Regions from separate parts of the Homo sapiens genome. Here all the other regions are linked to region 1. Evidence: promoter capture Hi-C in human tissues and cell types (Jung and others, 2019). All regions are on one chromosome and are shown on one strand. Each heading gives the region's core, a stretch centred on a gene start or on the middle of the fragment in contact. The rest is flanking DNA. Distances are from core to core; before and after follow the strand shown.

Region 1 (4,921 bases), core at 1,045-3,544:
CAAGTATTATCTTGACTTTAAAGAAAGAGACTTTCTTGTGACATATAAGCAAAATATGGTCAAAACAATTTGACCAAGGTTGAAAATGGACTGGAATCACTTCTAAGGAGCCAGCCTAGGTCTGTCGAATCAAGTTTGCTCACTAATAATCATACTTTGGTTATGTCGGATGTTAACATTAGAGGAAGAGGGTGGGGGATATAAGGGGATTCTTTGTACTATTTGTGAAACTTGTCTAAAATTATTTCAAAATTAAAAAATAACAAACAAAACCACATCCTTTGCTCCTGAGCCCTGTTCGCCCCAGACATTATGTGATGAACTCACTCCGTTCTTTAAGATCCAGCTCTGCAGAGCATCTCAGATTCCCTGTCCTGAGGCAGGTACTCCTGTATGAGCTCTTAAATACTTCTGCATTTACCTACCACCTACTGGTATGGTTTTCTGACTATATTTCATCTTCTTCGCCTCACGTGGAGTTTCTTTTAGAATGGAAAGTTTTCTTCCTTTCCTCTTTGAATCCTAGCACCAAGGCCACACTCGGCACTGAATACCTGTCTCGAATGAATGAATAAATCAATCTTGTTTGAACAAATCTTATTAGTTTTGCTTTTTTAAAATTATGGTAAAATGTACATAACATAAAAATTTCCATTTTAACCATTTTTAAGTGTATAATTCAGTGACATTAAGTACATTCTAAAGTTGCGCAGGTTTTTTTTTTTAAATCAGTTCTAAATGGTTTAAACTGGCCAGTATTTACTAGAGCTGTTAGATCGACTTAATTTGGACCCATGAGACTCGTGACACTCAGAATTAATCTAATCCCATTTACACCAGGTGCCTCCCATCAAAATCTGTTTGATCAAGTGTGGAATTATTTCATCCCATTGGAACCAGCTCTTGAATCAATCAGAACTGGCTCTGCCAGGCTCCGGGCCAGTAGTCGGTGCTCAAAATGGTGTTTCTTTCTTTGGCCTAATCTCTTGAGTAGCCTCTTTCCCTTTTGTTAATTTTTTTTTTTTTCTGGAGGACAATCTTCCCTGGGAGCTCCCTTCTGCTCCCACGAAGCGCTCTGCACCCAGCCCTGGTGCTGCCTGGCTCTGGGGCAGGGAGCTTGCATTCTGCCACCTCCTTCATTGTCCTCTCGGTATACCTGCACTTTCAAAACAACCCCTGCAGGCAAGCTTTAGAGGCAGCGATAAACAAACAGGCTGACTGAAATTTAGGGAAACGCCTGTATCTGGACAGCCTCTTCAAATATTTGTCACCCCCTCCCTGCTCTGGGGAAAGAAGAGACAGTTCCTCACAGTCACTCTATTTCCTGCCTTCCCAGCTCTGAACACCTTGGCTCGAATGTAAAGAATTTGGCTCTGAATTAGGACTCAAGAAACGGGGCCCTAGCAATTTTCCCTCCATTAACTAAACGCGTCACTTTGGTCATGCCCTTTTGGGGGCAATAATTTCCCAATTCGTAAAATGAAGGGATCAAAGTTTGATTTTTATCATTACTAATGAGAAGAATTATTATTTTTTTGCAGCAGGCTTTTTTTTCCCCAACAAAATATTACTCTGAATAAGACAAGAAAGAATCCCGAACGGCTCTGGCCGTCAGGGTGTGTGTGTCTCCTCCCCATGCTGTCTAACCCCCGTTGGAATTTGGAGGGCTCTTGTCCTTTCCCCTTGGCCTCAGAAGGAGCCCAGCGCGTCCTACCTTGCGTGGGAGTGTGTGTGTGACCAGGGCTCCTTCCTGCCCTTAGAGTCACCGCCCCCTTCTCGCACAGGTTTACAGCACCACTTGCCTCGCCCACTCCCCGCTTTGCCTCCGCCCCATCCTGATGCTGCCGGAATGGCTGTTCCAAATGGAAGGATGCCCGCGTCCGTCCCCTGCCCCAGTCCTTCAACAGGTCCCCACAGACCTCAGGATAAGATGAACGCGGAATTCAGGGCCTGGTCTCAACCGCCCTCTCCCTTTTCCTCTCACTTAGACGACCCTGGCCAGCTGGGCCACTCTCCACTCTCGCCCCCTCCCGCCCTCGTGGCCTCTGTCTAGACCGTACTCCCTCCTACTGGGTGATGTCTCTTCCCCTGGGACCCAGGGACCATCCCGTTGTTGACCTCCGGGGTCAGGGGTGCGGATGGGGGCCGGCCCTTCCCGCGGTCGCCGCCAGGGGGCGGCAGGAGCGGCTCCAGATGACAGCGGGAGGCCGCAAGAGGGGAGGGAGGAAGGACCGAGGGAGCGCGGATCCCGCTCTCGGATCGCAAACTCTGAGCCAGAGCTCTCCGCGCGCGCCTGAACCGCTGGCCGCCCGCGCAGCCCGACGCGGAATCGGGGCACAGCGGGAGCCCGTGCAGGGCGGGCGCGGGGCGGCTGGGCGGCGGTGGCGGCCGTCCATGCGGCGGCGCTCGGGGCTGCCCGGCGCCGGGAACCACGCGGGGGCGAGGCGAGGCGAGGCGGCCGCCGGTCGCTCCGGGACGCGGACCGCCAGGTGAGCAGAGCCGCGCGCCCCGCGTCCCCTGCGCGCCGCCCGCGCGGCCCCGACCCGGCTTCCGCTGCCCAGGCTCCGGCTCCCGCTCTCTGGCCGGCGGGGCGGGCTGGCGCGGGCTACCCAGTGGGTGTGTCCGGGGCGCCGCGGGCTGCGCCGCTCCGGGCTCGGGGAGCCAGCGCGCGCCTGGTCCGTGCGGACGGCTGCGCCTCCTTCTCTGGTTCTCTTCCTTGCTGGGAGTCTTGCTCTGTGCTGGCGCCGGCGCTCATCCCTCCACCCTCGACTCTAGGGACAGTCTTAAACTCTAGGGACAATCCACCTCAGTCGTCCCCGGGTCGGGGCCCCGTGCTCCCCGGGTCGGGTCGGAGGGGACCGGCGAGTGCACACCCAGCCCGTGCGCCCCCCACCTCAGCCTCGCCTCCCTCCCGCCTGGGGCCCGAGAGCCGGGCAAGTCTCGGTCAGCGCTCCTTGAGTCCTGGCCTGGGGCCTCGGATCTGTGTGTCTGTCTGTCTCAGTTTAGTTGCTGCAACCCAGCGAGCGCCTGGAGCCCGAGTGGATGGGTTGTTTCCGCCAACTCTGGACACTTCCTCAAGTGCAGCCTAAGTACCTGCGGCCCCTTGGCGCACTTACAGAAGTAGCTTTTGCACAGCGAGCTCACCTTGGAGCTCTACAGATCTGGAAGTTAAGTTTTCTTTTTATTTGAAATAACATCAGCCCTCACTTGGGAAGGGGATTTTAGGGCGTTCTCGGGCCCACCTAAGTATCTGGAATTTGTGGTCTAGTAAGTTTTTTAAGCAGTCCGCACCCAGCACCGTACCTCCCAGCCTCCTTTGCCGTCTTACTAAAAGTGCATGCTTGCTTCTCTTCCTGTCTCCTTTGCGATCTCTACCACGCTGCGCTTCGCCCTTTTCGGGCTATGAGTCTAAAGCTTGGACGTGGGTAGCAATCATTGGATGCCTGTTGGAATTTGGAATTAGAGAAATAGATACCCGAGAGAGATCTAAGGAATCGCCTTGTCCAACCCTCCTTTCACAGTTGGAGGCACCCAGGACCCCTGACAGTCTGAAGATTTTTCAAGGATCACACAGCTTTTAAAATCCGCGTGTCTTCTACTTGATTAATATTGTTGGAGGTGATGGAGTAACTGGGCTTACTAGGGTCTTACTGGGTCTCAATATACAAAGAAGCAAACATTTTAAAAATGTGACTTAAAATACGGAACTCTTCAATTCCTATAGATTTTTGTTGGCATCATAGTTGAATTCCTTTAGAAAACAAAATCCTAGCCCTGAAATTAATGTGAGGAAGCAAGCAGATGGGCGTCCTGGGACTTTCCTATAAATCTCTGCAGGGCTGGAGCAGGGATTTCCCAGAGGTCTGGGCCTGGGAAATGAGTTTGGGTGATCAGGATACTGGAGCCCCTTCTGAATAAGCAACTGGGTTGGTTTCTTGTGGGGAGGCTGGCCAGTGGAACTCATGTGATCTCCTCTGTGCCCAGCACTGGGCGGGGCACCAGCTTGGCATTACCTTCTTTTTAGTCTCCTATGCCATAAAGAAATATTTCTTACTGGCTGTTAGCGAAAGAAAAATACAGCCCAGAGTTTGGGAGGAAGATCAGGGGTGGGGAGATTTTTGACTTGGAGTTTGTTTTTGTTTTTGCCTCGAAAAACTTGTGGAGATTGCAATCAGTTATCCTACACAGAGGCTGTGTATTGCCGTCTTCTCCATCCCCCACATTTCTCTCCATGGTACCACTTTTATCCTAATTGCTGGGAGTCTCAATGTTTAAATGTTCCCAACACTCCCATTCTGTCCCCCACATTTATAGCTCATTCATCGCAAAATCTCTTCCACATTCTTTTGTGATATCTGAGGAATTATTTACCTGTCTCCATTCCCACTGCCCCCACCTTCAACCATGTCCAAATTACAGTAATAATCTCCCCTCTTGACTCCCAGCCACGAGTTGCTTTCTTCATTTTAATCCATCTTCTTTCATGCTGATAGATTAATATTTCTGAAATTCTGATTTCACCACATCATTTCTCTCAAGAAATCACAATGGCTCCCCAGTATTCACTTCTATTTAATTTATCTCCAACAGATATTTCTGAGCGTCTGCTATGTGCCAGGGACTGTTACTATGTGCCAGGGACTGTTACTATGTGCTGGAGCTTACGCTATGAACAAGACAATATCATTGCCTTCAGGGAGTCCACAGGCTAGCAGATGATAAATAACCACCCAGGGGAGAAAGGGAAGTAAAGAAATAACCGCAATACAAGGGGGATGTGCAAAACATCAAGGAGATGCGAATGAGGGAGAAATTGATTCTGCATGGGAGGAGCTAGGGCAGTTACCACTGGGCTTTGAAGCCTAAGGAGGAGTTCAAGGAGATGGGAAAGGCTGGTGGGGAGGGAGGACAGGCCAAGCAG
Region 2 (4,877 bases), core at 770-3,269, 570 kb after region 1:
TGAGTGCTGGCTGGAAGAGCAGGCTGCTATTTGAGTTAGGTTGTCAATGTCTTAAGGAATGTGATCCTTGAATTCCAACCTGATTCATGCCCAGAGTGTATTAGATCTATAAATTCATTTGGGAGGAGTAGACATGGTTAAAATGTTCAGTCTGGCCAGGCTCAGTGGCTTACACCTGTAATCCCAGCACTTTGGGAGGCCGAGCCGAACGGCCTACTTGAGGTCAGGAGTTTGAGAACAACCTGGCCAACAGGTGAAACCCCATCTGTACTAAAAATACAAAAATTTAGCTGGGCATGGTGGGAGGTGCCCATAGTCCCAGCTACTCAGGAGGTTGAGGCATGAGAATCACTTGAACCCAGGAGGCAAGGTTGCAGTGAGCCAAGATCACACCACTGCACTCTAGCCTGGACGACAGAGCAAGACTCCATCTCAAAACAGCAACAAAACCATTCAGTCTAAGAACATAGCATTTATTACCGTTTATTCAAATAGCTTACATCTGCCAGTGAAGTTTTGTTATTTTCCATATAAATTCTCTGCATTCCTTGTAAAGATTCATCATAGGTATTTAATTGCATTTTGCTGTGGTATGATGATGATGACAAAGAATGGAATCTGTTCCTTTTTATCTCTAAAATTCTTATCAATATACAGAAAAGTTATGGGTTTTTTTATATTTACCTCTATCTGGTAATTTCGTTGCGCTTTTATAAATTCTGAGTAATTTGAGTTGATTCTCATCGTTTTCTAGTGATATAATCATACCATATAGAAATAATTATAATATTGCCTCCTCCTTTCCAATAGTAATTACTCTGAATAGCAGACATCCTTAACCTATCTCTGATTTTAATGTGAATGCTCCTAATTTTTACTAGCAAGGAAAATGGATGTATGCTCAATAAATATTTTAATTGAATATATGATTACATGCTCATCATTGGGGTAAGAAAGTCTATTTCTAATCTTGTAATCTTTTTTTTTTTTTACCAGGATGAGTTTTAAATGACATTTTGGCACCTACTTACGTTATTTTTTCTTTAAAGTTTTCTATATTATCCTTGAATTCCTGGATTATACCCTGTTTCATCTTGCTGAATGGTTTTTTTAATGTTCTGTTGAATTCAATTTGCTAGGACCTTATTTGGGATTTTTAAAATCTGTATTCCGAAGTGAGATTGGCCTATTGTTTTCATTTTGTGCTACCTCTCTGAGGTGGAGGTTAGGTTAGTGTTCCAATTTTTATGTGCTCTGGAAAAGCTTATATAATAATCTGTTCCTTCAGATTTTTATAAAAACTCACCAATAAAAAACATCTGGCACTAGAATATTTTTGGAAGAAATTACTGCTAACTTGTAACAATTCTTCTATGGCTGTGAGTCTACTATGTTTTCTTGTTCATCTTAAATCAAGCTGGTAATTTTTTAATGTATCTTTTTCATGGAGAATTTCAAATGTAGTATAGAATTACATATCAAATTCACTTTTAATTTCAGCATCATCTGATATATTCTCTTATTTGGGCTTTATTGCTTTTTTATTAAATTTGCTTATTTTCAAAAATGTCTTGGAGACCAGCTCTCAGGTTCTTATGTGTGTTTTTCTTTCTTGAATTCACATACTTCTGTTTTATGATTTCTACCTTGGTTTCCTCTTTTTAAAAAAAAAAGAAATAAGAGTATTTAAATTGCATAAATTCAATGTGTGACACTTCTGTTTTTGCTGTTTTCTCAGTGGTTCTTAAATGTTTTCATCTCAGGACCCTTTTCTCCTCTTTAAAACTGAAGACCCCAGAGAGCTTTTGTTCATATGAATTTATTCGTTAATATTTACAGTATTCACATTTTAAACTGAAATTTGAGAATTTTATATTACTTTGCTTTCAAATAACAATAATAAACTCACTATATAATACAGTAACAGTTTTTTTAAAGTAACTATTTCCCAGAGCAAAAACATTTTGAGAAGAGTGGCATCATTTTACAATTTGCAAATACTGTATCTTTTAATGTCTGGCCTAATAGAAGACAGCTGGATTCTCATATCTGCTTCTCCAATCTATTGTGATAGATTATTTGGCTAAAGTATATGAAGAAAATCTGGTTTCACATAAATATGTAGTTGGAAAATAGAGAGGTAGTTTAGTGGTCTTTTCAGATCATTGTGAATCTTCTCCTTTGATACTATACCAAACTAGAAAAGTGGTAGTTTCTTAAAGGTTAGTTGCAATGGGAAATCTGAAACCACATCAATAAACTTGTCATGTTCTTTATACTCATGAGTAAGAGAAAAAAAGGCAAATAGCATCTTAGAGTTGTTATGGAAATAGGTTTAATCTCAAAGATCCCCTGAGAGGATCTTAAGGACCATACTTTCAGATATACTTTTCCAAGTAAATGGAAATATATCCATTTTTTTAAACTTTTTATTTTCAAGTAATGTTAAATTTACAGAAGAGTTGCAGAGAGAATGCAGAGTTCCCATGTACTCTTAACCCAGCTTCCCCTAATAAGAAATTTTTAAAACTTTATGGTAAAATATATATAACATAAAATTTACCATTTTAACCATTTTAAATGTACAGTTCAGTGGCATTAAGCACATTCACATTATTGTACAACCATCAACAGCACCCATCCATAGAACTTTCTTCATCTTCCAAAACTGAAACTCTATACCCATGATGTGTAAGTTGGATTCACTTATTAACCCAAACTACTTGAGGCATCTGTTGAGATTTACATGCTTAACTGGTTGCATTTGTGCTGTTAATACCTGATTGTATTGCTTTGGAGAGTGTAGTCTGCATGATTTTGAGGGCTGAGGTGAGAAAGAAACTGTTTCTCTCTCTGTCTACTGAATCAGGGCTATACAGTTTATACCAGACAAAAAAGGACAGCTGTTCCCTCCACATAGGAGCACCTTTGTTTTGAGATGGCCAGAGCACTGCCTCTTCATCACTTCATCAGTCTCTGTCAGTTGATATAAACCATGAAATCAGAACACATGGGATAGTGAGAGTAATGACATGACGTTTCACCCACAAACACCATATTGCTAAGCTTGGGTTATAAGGACAAAGGAAGAGGAGGAGTCCCTAGACCCATTCTTGGGGGAAGGGGAAGTCAGTAGTGATGGAGGACATGGTGCACTCTGTTGTTCCAATCTCTGTGGGGGGAAGCAGTAGCAAGAAAACTGAAGATTTACAGCCAGATAGGAAATATTTTAGGCTTTGCAGTCCCTATGGACACTGTCACAACTACTCAACTCTCCTATGCAAAAGCAGTGACTGATTCCAATAAAACTTTATTTACAAAAGCAGGTGGCAGGCCATATTTGGCTCAGAGACTGTGTTTTGGTGACCGCCACACTAAATGAATTCCTGGCAGGGGTCCGAAAACTGGTTAAGACTTAGGAATATCTCAGTCAACACTAGTTGACCATCTTAAAGGAGAGTTCTACCAGCACGCAGATGAACAGTAACCAAGGCAATGGACAGTCACATATCCTGCCTGTTGGCTGGTACCAAAGCAGGATATCACGCTTCCTTCCAACATTTAGTTGATAAAAGTTTCATAGTCAACTCTGAGCATGAGGCAGGTGGCATCTATTAACCCCTAGAGAATAAAAATTAAACTACAGACTTCTCACTAGATGTCCACCTTCTTTAACTGCTTGTTCTTTAAGGACTATTGAGTCCACCTCTTAATGTTGTTAGGTTTTGCTGTTTTAAATTTTATTCTATATGAAAAATTATGCTATAATTTTTAGAAGTTATGGGATATTTGCTGTTAGGACCAGGAAGCTATAACCAGAGCATTATTGCTTCCTCCTGACAGCACTTTCTGTTTTTAGAAAACAGGCATAAGAGACCGTGAAAAACCACTAAAACGGCTGAACTCACAAGCTAACCTTAAAAGCCAGCACCTTGGCCAGGCGCCATTGCTCACACCGGTAATCCCAGCACTTTGGGGGGCCAAGGCGAGTGGATCACCTGAGCCAGGAGTTTGAGACCAGCCTGGCCAACATGGTGAAACCCTGTCTCTACTAAAAATACAAAAATTAGCCAGGAGTGGTGGTGGGCACCTGTAATCCCAGTTACTCGGAAGGCTGAGGCAGGAGAATTGCTTGAACCCGGGAGACGGAGGCTGCAGTGAGCTGAGATCGTGCCATTACACTCCAGTCTGGGCAACAAGAGTGAAACTCTGTCTCAAAAAAAAAAAAAAAAACAAACCAGCACCTCAGAAATTCATCTGTATCAACCATTCATCAATCAAAAATATTTGAATGCAAATATTTGGAAATTACTAATGCAAAGTATGCCAATATGCAAATTAACCTGTTTGTTCATTTTTTCTCATTTATTCATTCATTCACTTATTGAGAGTCTGTTATGAGCTAAGTCTGTTATTAGCCAAGTCTGTTTTAGGCTGCAGTTGTGGCTTCAGTTATAATCTCCTGTAAATGTTTGTTTTGTTCACATGTGTTCAGATGTATTCTATGTAACAGTTGCCTCTACCTTCTATTTTAATGAAAAAGCTCCTTGAGCACAAATCTGTATTTTCCCGTCTCTTCATAATTCTCCACAGTTCCCAACTGCATGCTCTGCATGCAATAAAGCATTTAGCACATGATTTTGATTTATTGACTGGTGGGAAGCCTTTACAAGCCAGTCTTCTGTCTTGAGCCCCATCCAGAATTCTTCTGTTAATTTTTCTATAGTTCCCAAAGGTTACAAAGAACATTTTCCTTTCAGCCTTTAAGAGCTTGTGTAGAATTAGTCATCACTGGGACCCAGACTTCACCCTAAACATGAGTGCATTTACATGCTCCAGTGAATTAATCCTGATGTCATATTGTGAATTGTGTCCTA
Region 3 (4,829 bases), core at 1-2,500, 630 kb after region 1:
ACTGCGACATGGGACCCTGTGCCAAGAGCTGGTTCCTCACCGAGTGGAGCGAAAGGGTGAGTGTGATGGCGGGCAGAGCGCCGGGGACCGAGGTCTGCCAGGTGCCTCCAAAACCACACAAAGATGAGTCACTAGCTCAGAATCCCAAGACTGATTTCTGGCTCTGGGGGGAAAAAAAAGGCCCAGAGAGGAATTATCGTAGGCTTTCTATCCTTATGTGAGGACTGAGGGTCTCCAAAGGTGAGGAGGGTGTATGCAAAACTTGATTGAATTCTCCTTAGCACTCCATGTGGTCACTCCATAATACTAGGTGAAGTGAATCATTACATCCCATCGTTCATATGTCTTGTAAGTGCCTGGTGTCTCATAGACACTCAGCAATGGCAGGCCCCTCTACTGCTTTTTGCCAACTCAAAACATCCCACACCCCGTTCCCTCCCCAGTAGCCTGGCCTCCCATGGGAAGTCTCAGGTGTCAAAGAATAACTCAAAGGCATATATAGTCAACCATTAGCCCACCAGTTACCTGGATATAAGGGAAAACAGTCATATATTAAATTCATCCATCAAAGGCAAAAGGAGGATTTATATGAAAAGGGGTTTCTGCAGATGGAGTGATGTTGGTTACACAACAGCATGAATGCACCTAATGCCCTGGAGGTGTGGGCTTAAAAGTGGTTACGATGGTCAATTTCATGCTATGTGTATTCTACCACAATCAAAAATGAAGTTTGAGAAAAGACACTAAACAAATTGTAGAACATACCTTGGGACAGGGAGAAGAAAAGAGGAAGGAGATAAGGAATTGTGCTTCCTTTCCTGGTGGGATCGGCGCATTGGCGGGCATGGGATGGCCAGTCAGAGGGTTTGCCCAGGGCAGCTGCACAGCTGTGAGAGGCACCAAGTCCAGATTCTGGATTCTCTAGGAGATCTAGGGAGTTTACCTGGGATGAGGACATGATTGGCTATCTCTGACCTTGGTTAGCGGCCTACCTCTCGGATACACTAGTTCTGCCCCACTTCCCTTGCTAGAATCCCGTGCGTACACGTTACCTGTGAACCGCATTAAAGTGTAGGTCTGAGGCAGCAGGTGTGGGGAGGAGCCAGGGATTCTACATTTATTTTCTTTCTTTTTTTTAATATTTTTATATTTTTAAATTTTTATTTATTTATTTATTTATTTATTTATTTATTTATTTTGAGACCGGGTCTCATTCTATTGCCCGGGCTGGAGTGCAGTGGTGCAATCTCAGCTCACTGCAGCCTCGACCTGCTGGGATCAAGCAATCCTCCTGCCTCAGCACCCCCTGCCCCCCTCCCGCCAACGTAGGTGGGACTATAGGTGCGCGCCACCACCCCGGCTAATTTTTTGTATTTGTTTGTGGTTTCACCATGTTGCCCAAGCTGGTCTCAAACTCCTGGGCTCAAGTGATCTGCCACCTCGGCCTCCCGAAGCCCTGGAATTGTAGGCATGAGCCACTGTGCCTGGCCACAGCCTACATTTCTAATAGGTTCCCAGGGTCTCTGAGGCCACTGGTCCAAGGACCACACTCTGAATAACAAGGCCATAAAAAAGACAGAGGAGCCCAGCCATGTTCTTGGATCTTAGGAGACACGATGCAGCCCATGAGCCCCCACCCCGTCCCCACTCCCAGCATCATGAGAACAACAACCATAGTATCTCAGACTCAAAGAAGGACCCTTTCACGCAGTTTGGGGATATCAGCAGACATGCCCCATACGGCCACATTGGCTGACTCCAACTGGTCAGTGTCCATTCTGACCGGTCAATGGCCACCATGCACCTGTTATTGAGTATTTTGAATATCACCCCTAGAGGTGTTCACATAGGTTTTCTCTCCCTCTGCGGTGTAAGATGCCCCTTCATTTTGTCCCTCTATCACCATAACAATCCACTTCCACAGGGAGTGTTATCCAGAAAGAGAGGAAGGACAAACCTGCAAATGCAGCCTTCACTCCACCTCCAGAGATGGTCCTGGAGATTCTTACCTAGCGGCTCATCTTCTTGTGTGTTCCCCACACCTCATGGCATATGGCCCCTGCCCCTTAGGCCCACGATGGCCCCAGATGGACAGCCCTTGGTGCAAATACTGAGCTTCCAAGATGAGCATCTGACTGTGCCCCCAGTCCCAGGAGCAGACACTAATTTGGCCATCTGGGAGGCTCTAACCAAAGAGAAACAGATGGAGAGTAAGTGCTGATCTGGCCACTGACTCAAGCTTCTGCCCTAAAGCTGAGTCCAGGAGAGCTCATCCTAGTTCTTCGGTGTATCCCTATTTTCCAAGCCTCCCATCCCAAACATTAGCGCATGGTACTGCGGAAACAGTGGGGGAAGGTGTTTGTGAGCTCAGCCTCCTTGCCAGCATGAGGAATCCTCTGCAGTGCCCCTGACATAGGTCACAGCTCTTGCCCAAACCCTTTATCAGAAATTCACCCTGTGTCCAGACAATTACATCTATTTCTTGTACAGCTCAAGGTGTCAAGAGGTCTCCTTTTACAGTTAACCAAAGTGTTTCTTACTAAGTCCCACTGTCCTTTAGAAAAGGACAGCCCTACAGCCATTGGGGAACCCCTTCCACTTTCTCCAGGCTAAAAATATCTAGTTTCCTCAACTAATCCTTTTGTGCTTCAGTTTCTGAACTCATTCGTGTTCTCAGTAAACTTGATGGATTTCCTGTATCAGCAAATGGATGAAAAGAATGATGCTGGACTTTCATTTTTATATTGGAATGATTCTTTTTCTTAAAAATGTTGGCTTTTTTCTGGTTAAAAAGTAACACAGTATTGTTTTAAGAATATGAGAAATTTGGAAAAGTATGCTCCAAACCTCTTCACCAAAAGAAAATTTGAGATTAAGCTATACTTCAAGTTTTTTCTTCTCATACATACTTTACCTACATAGCTTTTTTTCCTCATACGTATTTTAAAGATATAAATGTATCTTTATATCATAATGTATGTATAATTTGGTCACCTCTTTTCACTTAATTATTATAAGCATAAAATCTTTAAAACATGATTTTTATTATAATAAGCTATAGAACTATATAACTGAAACAATCTCCTATTTCTAAATGTTTGGGATTTTCTAGTTTTTATTTTTATTTTTATTTTTATTTTTATTTTTGAGACCAGGTCTTGCTCTGTTGCCCAGGCTGGACTGCAGTGGCACAATCATGGCTCACTGAAGCCTTGACCTCCTGGGCTCTAGTGATCCTCCCTCCTCAGCCTCCTGAGTAGCTGGGATTACAGTTATAAGCCTCCATACACGGGTGATGTTTTACTGTTTAAAACAGAATATTTTAAAAGACTTCAGTAAGTGTTCTTGTGCATAAATCTTTATATGCACCTCTTCTTATCTCTGTAAAATAGTGGGGGCGTGGAATCATGTTAAATTATGGGAAAATATTATGAATGCTTTTTGAACTCTTAATACATTTTAGCTAATTGTTCTCCAGAAAGATTATTTCGGTGTAGTCTTCCAAGCAGCAACTGAGAGCGCTTTTACAGTCATTTTGTTGCCATGATTCTTTAGTTTGTAAATTCCATGTCTCTACATTTGCCACTCTCTGAAAAGGCAGGGGGCACAGAGCACAATACGTACAGAGAAAAAACAACTCTGTGGGGAAAATAGCTGCAGTGGTTCATTCCTCTGTGTGTCTCCCACATTTATTTAGAACAGTAAAAAGCTACATGTAAATTTTCCAAAGATTTCCACTCTACCTATTTCCTCTCCAATAATGACTTGCAGATTTCCCCTTAAAGTAATTTTGCTTTGCATTTCAACATAAGTTCTTGCCGAATCTAGCTTGGCTTAAAATTATAAATAGAGCAAAGAATGAGCACTTTATTCTATTCAGGGAACTCTTTCGTTCGTTTTGGAAAAGATGTTCTAAATCATGCAAGTTGGGTGCTATGGTGTAAGTAAATAATTTTTGCCTTATCTACCCTCAGAATAGATCATGAATTCTAAATGTTCATGCTTATTTTAGAGTAGATGAGTGGGAAGGGAGTACTATTGGGTTTAAGAAACGCACATTGGCTTTGGTATCATCTCCATGACCATCACTTATTTCGTATTTGACCCTGAGCCAGCTACTGATTCACCGAGCTTCAGTTTTTTCAACTGTAACATTGCTGAGTAACCGCTGCAGTAATATATTTGAAGCTATGACCTAGATGAGGTTGGCACAGTGGGAAGGATTTCCTGTGGGCTGCTTCATTCTTCTTCAGCTGCGTGTTACCAGGGGCCTTTGGGCCACCAGTTGGTCTTAGAAAAGGTTCAGCCCCTGGAATGACCAGCGGATGGCAGTCTTCCACTTTTGAATAGTTGCTTTGTGTAGAAAATGGCCTCGTTAAGCTTTAGTCTGAACTATGAAATTTTTTATTACTGGGAATAAACACGTGTTGAGCACCTGTTACATGCCAGTCATGAACGAGACACAGCTTCCGACTCAATAAGCTCAAGAGGGAGAGACCAAAGAAAATTAAAGTTCGCAAACACTTAAGAGTACAGAGTGTGTCTTATTGCCCAATTTAAAATTAATTAATCTTTACCTAAGTGAATTGAGGTTGTAACCCCAGTCTGAATCTTCTGTTAAACTTCTAGGGACACAAAGTTTCTTCTGGCTTAATGACTCACCTTAAAAACATCTTTTCAGCTGCTTGTACTTGAGAGTGGGCCTTATCAGAAGTAAGCATCGTTGACTTTTCAGTTCTACAAATCAATGATAGGTTTAAGCCCATGTGCAATTTTTAATCACAACAGGAAAAAAACACTTTTAGAAAGTCCACCAGCCTTAGTTTGGT
Region 4 (4,627 bases), core at 1,842-4,341, 710 kb after region 1:
TCATTTTTTATATATTATAAATAGCAAAAACAGATTTCTAATCCCACAAATGCTAAGATACTTAAAATGCTATTATAACTCATGTGTATGAAGACCACCCAGTGGTGAAAATGATGTCTTACTAATTCCCTCAACCCAGGGACGAATGGCTCTCATCCCCCTGTCCAGTGGCCCCTCATCTGTGGGAAGAAATTCCATGGGAAGGAGGGAAGCACAAGGTTAAAAAGAAATATGCCTACTATACATACATATTTACAATAAACTTCAGTAACCAGAATATTAACAAAAATAGCTTCAAGTAGTCCTTGATTTTTTTCCATCTATTTAATACTGATAGTCTGAGAAAAGGAAGATAAAAGTTAGTTAGTTAGATAGGTCATATTAAAAACCTTTTTATTTTTTGGCAGCTTTCTGTAACACTTACTTACTTATTCATGCAATATTGTATGTGAATGTTTTTGGAAACTAACTAAACGGTCACATTATTTGTTTGTTTGTTTGAGTCTGAGTCTGTGGTGGGAATCCACCAGCAGATGAACAGGCTCATATGCGGTTTTCGGTTTAATCTATACAAAGAGAAAAGCCTGAATGGCTTAGGATGAAACCTTCATAAGTTTAGGGATCACCATGTCTCTGGGAAACTAAAAAATAATGTAGAAGAATCTGATCCTAGGACCAAGAAACATGAGAACAGTATGGCTACTGACACTTCAGCCCATGCAATGTATTTGGCAGGAACTAAACAGGAGTTAAACCAGCACTGATTACTATGACATCAAACATCATCAAAAAAAATAGGTATTCTCTTCTTCACTGTATAACAAGATATCTGAGACACGCTCTGATGGCTTAATGGAAACAATCACGGTTTTTTTTTGTTTTTTTTTTTTTGTTTTTTTTTTTTGTTTTTGCTTTCCCCAGAATATAACATGGAGTGTTTTTTCAGAAATCTTAAAATAGAGGGATTAGGCTTTTTGTTTGTAAGTAAGTTTTTGGAAAAAAATTATATTCTACCCTAGCTCCTAACTATCCCAAAATAAACCCAAAGGCTTTTGCTTTCACGGTTAAGAAAGATTTATACGTTTTCTTCAAATGTCAGAAATGAGAGGGTCCCTCAGGACAGCAATATCCCCCCTAGTTCAACACCCACCTTTGGGAAGGGAAAAGAGGGTGGGGGAGAGGCAACTACAACTGACCCAAATCCCCAGGCCCTAGGTGGCTTTGTATAGTAAAAATCTCAATTCAAATACAACAGCCAAGGCACAGCTGGCACCATCCCCAGCAGGCTTTCTGCTTCTGCAGGAGGCCCAGGAATTCAGCACATACAGTCTTAGCCATATGCTTAGAAAAGAGGCAGGACCACAATTAGGATTGACTATTGTGGACGAGGTGATGAAACGCAGCCCCAAAGGTGAGATTTGTTTACCACTCTGTAGCCACGGAGGGACACACATCTGCCGGTTCAGACCATAAATTCATTATTTCCAAAGAGTGCTAGCTGTTGGTTGGAGGTGCAGTCTGGGTCCACAGTTTTTCTGCGGCCAGACATGACTGTCCCCTCTGGGGTCTCTTTGGTTTTCTGAGGTGAGTTTTTCACATTCTTTAATTTTTGTTTGCCCTTTTCCGGGTTGAAGGTTCCTCTGCTGATGAACTGAGGCTTGTCTTCCAGGAATTTGGTCTGGCCCAATGGTCCTTCCATTCCCAGGGCCTCATTACCTGAGGCAGCTCGGTAGAATGGAGATTTGGAATAAATCTGAAATAGTTTTCTGGTCCCATGAGATGATGCCGTGTTAGACAGACATAAAGAGGAGACCGAAGAGTCCACGACATCTAAAGAGTCTTGCTGCTTTTTAAGTTGCTTTCGCAACTTGCTGGAAGGTTCAGACTTGCCAGCTGTCTTCAGGGAGCTAAGGGCTAAGCTTCTTTCTAATGCAAAAAAGAGACCAAAGATGTAAATGACAGTGCCCTCTAAAGCAAATCATCATATAATGAATAGATGCCACTGTTCACACATGAAATTGGGTGGGATAAGATTCAGAGGGTCCAGGATGACTTACTATGGGCACAGTCACAGTAAGAGCTCACCATCCATTTCTCTATGTAGCATTTCCGAATCATCTCCAAGGAAATCTGGTGTTTGACTATGCCATCAGCGGAGGCCTAGAACAGTCACTATCATTTCAAAAACTGCCAGGATATGCAGGTAAGTCCTACATCTCCCTGAGACATGCCACCCAGTTAAACACCTCCTTTGTATATGTATATAGTCCCACCTCACAGTGGGGGCACAATGCCTGCCACCCTCAGAAAATGGGTTATGGGTCAGTAAGACAACATATATTGTGATTATTGGCTTTTCTCTGTGGTAAGTACAGGATAAAACATTAAATTACCAAAAAACAAAACAAAACAAAACAAAAAACAAAAAACTCAATCACGTTGAAGAGTTGGTTTGATAAACAATGTATATGGAAGCTTTACAAAGACAACAGGAAAAAAAAGACCTTCCGTGGAAGTCAGGAATCTAAGTAGCAAAGACAATTATATTTCTTATCCCCTTATATTTCTTATCCCCATCCAGGTCACTACCTGTATGCCAAACGATGAAGGCTAAAATTATATGGATAAAAGGACAAAATTCCTCAAGACTTTGTTATTGCTGATGTACAGTCAGTAAATTCTTAAAAGACTTTGTCTTAGTTTTGGAATCTTTATTCCTCCTTTGCAAAACAAATCTGGAGTCTTTGGTCTACCATGTTCACTTACCTGATTTCTCAGAGATAGCATATTCAGACTCCATATTCAAATTCTCTGAGCTATCAGCAGTCCCAATGGAGGCCTCAGACTCAAGGGTTTCATCATCAGAGGCACGGGGTTCCAGTACAAGCATCTCAAATGTTAGCTCCTCCCTGTAAGACACAATCAAGAAACCATTAGCATTTGATAGGAAGTGGAAGGAAGATAACAGAAAAAAAGATCCTCCATGGAAGTCAGGAATCTAAGAAGCAAAGAGAGTCCATTTTTACTGTCCCCATCCAGGTGGTGATGAGGACCTGTATGCCAAATATGGTGAAGGCTAAAACTATATGGACTAAAGGACAAAATGACAGATAGCCAATCTAGGACCAATAATAGGGGTAAGGGTAGGGTGAAGAAAGATGTAGTGGTGAGATCTTTCAGTAAAATGAACTCTGGACTGATAAGCAGGAGATCAGGGCTCTAACCTTGTTCATAATATCCATAATGCATCAGGAAAGTACCTTTCTCTTCTGGACCTCAGCTTCCTACCACAAAACAAAGAGATTAAACTAGATAACCTCTAAGATTCCTTCCAGCTCTTAAACTATTTTCCATGAAGCTTACTAACTGGCTATAGACGATACCCTCTATCTTCACCACAGAGACCTCTAGACGAAGAAAAACACTGATTGATCTTTTCTGTCCTTTGAAGCTTATGCCATCTTCAGTTGTCGTATTCTCTAGTCTCCCTTCTTCATCACGGTCACCCAGCTACCTCTCAGTAATGCCCCACATTCTGTGAGGTCTTTGGTACTCAGATCCTAATCTTGCTTTTTCACTAATGCCTGACATCACCTGATCTATTCAATTAATATCTTTGTAAAAACTCATCTGAATATTCTAACACTGAAGTTCCTTTATGTCTGCAACTTCTAACAATATTCTCCTCTACTTTATCTAAGCTACTTTCTCCAATGCACAGATCCTGGAGCTTGTCATTACTCTGAATCCAACACTCCACCCTGTTCACAACCTCCTTATCCTTCCAATTCTTACTCACCTTCTAATCAAGTCTCTTCCCTAACAGAGCCCCTTACCTTTACTTCCCCTTTACCTGGCTTGAGATCCATGAACAATCATTTCAAGAACAGTATCACCAGCATTACAATTGTCTGAGGCCATGTGCATTCTGAGACTCTGCTCGTTCTTCTTTCTTTTTCTAGAGACTCTCCCCTTCCTTGAAAATTCCTATTAATCCTTCAAGACTGCCAATATCATCTGCATCAAAGCCAAACTGGGTCTTCTTTTCAGATCACTCTTCTAGCAAATAGCCCCTGGTCAATGTACATCATCTTTGCCTTATCATGTTTTTTACAGCTGAGCCCCAGCTGCTTTTTTAGCTGGCCTATATTCCAGAATCAATCATGAGAGACCAAGAAAGTATTTTAACAGTCTTATATCCCCTTATAAACCAAACTCAAGACCTGGGATCCTGGAACTCAGGAATAAAGATCCCATTAAGACTTCCTAAGAGTCATCAATGTCGACCAGAACTATTACACAGCACCTGTAGGGAGAACCATGGCACGTTCATATTATCCCCAAGGCATACTGTCACCCAATCCCTGCAACAGTGATGAATGGAGGTAAAAGAGCTTCTCATTTGTCTCTCTCCTAAATTGCAACCAATTTCCCTATCTAGTATCCTAGCACCCTCTAGGGCTATAGCCTTACTATGACCATCTAGTTGCTGTTCCCATGGTCATATGGATCTTTGGCTAATAACCTTCCTTCATGGATTTGTGAATAATGCCCATTCTTGAAAGGGACTTTGGCTTAGCCTAAGAATTCCTTCTCTTCTTTGCAAAATAAATCTGTTCATGGAGGC

The links. The method cuts DNA at HindIII sites, captures the fragments that hold promoters and counts their contacts. A contact is called where the count stands out against the background at its distance.
Region 2: a contact is called between a fragment that was not itself captured here and the fragment with the promoter of CT62 in region 1, in 2 of the 25 tissues and cell types used here (adrenal gland and dorsolateral prefrontal cortex).
Region 3: a contact is called between a fragment that was not itself captured here and the fragment with the promoter of CT62 in region 1, in 1 of the 25 tissues and cell types used here (mesendoderm cells).
Region 4: a fragment that was not itself captured here is called in contact with the fragment with the promoter of CT62 in region 1 in 5 of the 25 tissues and cell types used here (H1 embryonic stem cells, IMR-90 fibroblasts, dorsolateral prefrontal cortex and 2 more).

The regions. Positions count from the first base shown.
Region 1 is chr15:71,113,210-71,118,130 of GRCh38, forward strand. It overlaps CT62 (cancer/testis associated 62), which reads right to left and starts at 2,295. Exons shown (of 4, transcript NR_168260.1): 1 at 1,715-2,295; 2 at 422-554. It overlaps THSD4 (thrombospondin type 1 domain containing 4), which reads left to right and starts at 2,262. Exons shown (of 18, transcript NM_024817.3): 1 at 2,262-2,489. RefSeq lists silencers at 2,076-2,125, 2,162-2,339, 2,186-2,245, 2,276-2,415, 2,566-2,655. The HindIII fragment of the contact is 8,632 bases long and covers 1-4,921 here.
Region 2 is chr15:71,683,540-71,688,416 of GRCh38, forward strand. All of the region lies in intron 8 of THSD4 (thrombospondin type 1 domain containing 4), which reads left to right. Among named protein-coding and RNA genes, the nearest start is that of THSD4-AS2, 5.6 kb to the right of the region's middle. The HindIII fragment of the contact is 4,039 bases long and covers 1-4,039 here.
Region 3 is chr15:71,748,539-71,753,367 of GRCh38, forward strand. THSD4 (thrombospondin type 1 domain containing 4) reads left to right here. Exons shown (of 18, transcript NM_024817.3): 14 at 1-56. Among named protein-coding and RNA genes, the nearest start is that of THSD4-AS2, 59 kb to the left of the region's middle. The HindIII fragment of the contact is 4,117 bases long and covers 1-3,309 here.
Region 4 is chr15:71,825,118-71,829,744 of GRCh38, forward strand. MYO9A (myosin IXA) reads right to left here. Exons shown (of 42, transcript NM_006901.4): 41 at 2,767-2,909; 42 at 1-1,926. The coding sequence ends at 1,463. Among named protein-coding and RNA genes, the nearest start is that of NR2E3, 17 kb to the left of the region's middle. The HindIII fragment of the contact is 4,731 bases long and covers 727-4,627 here.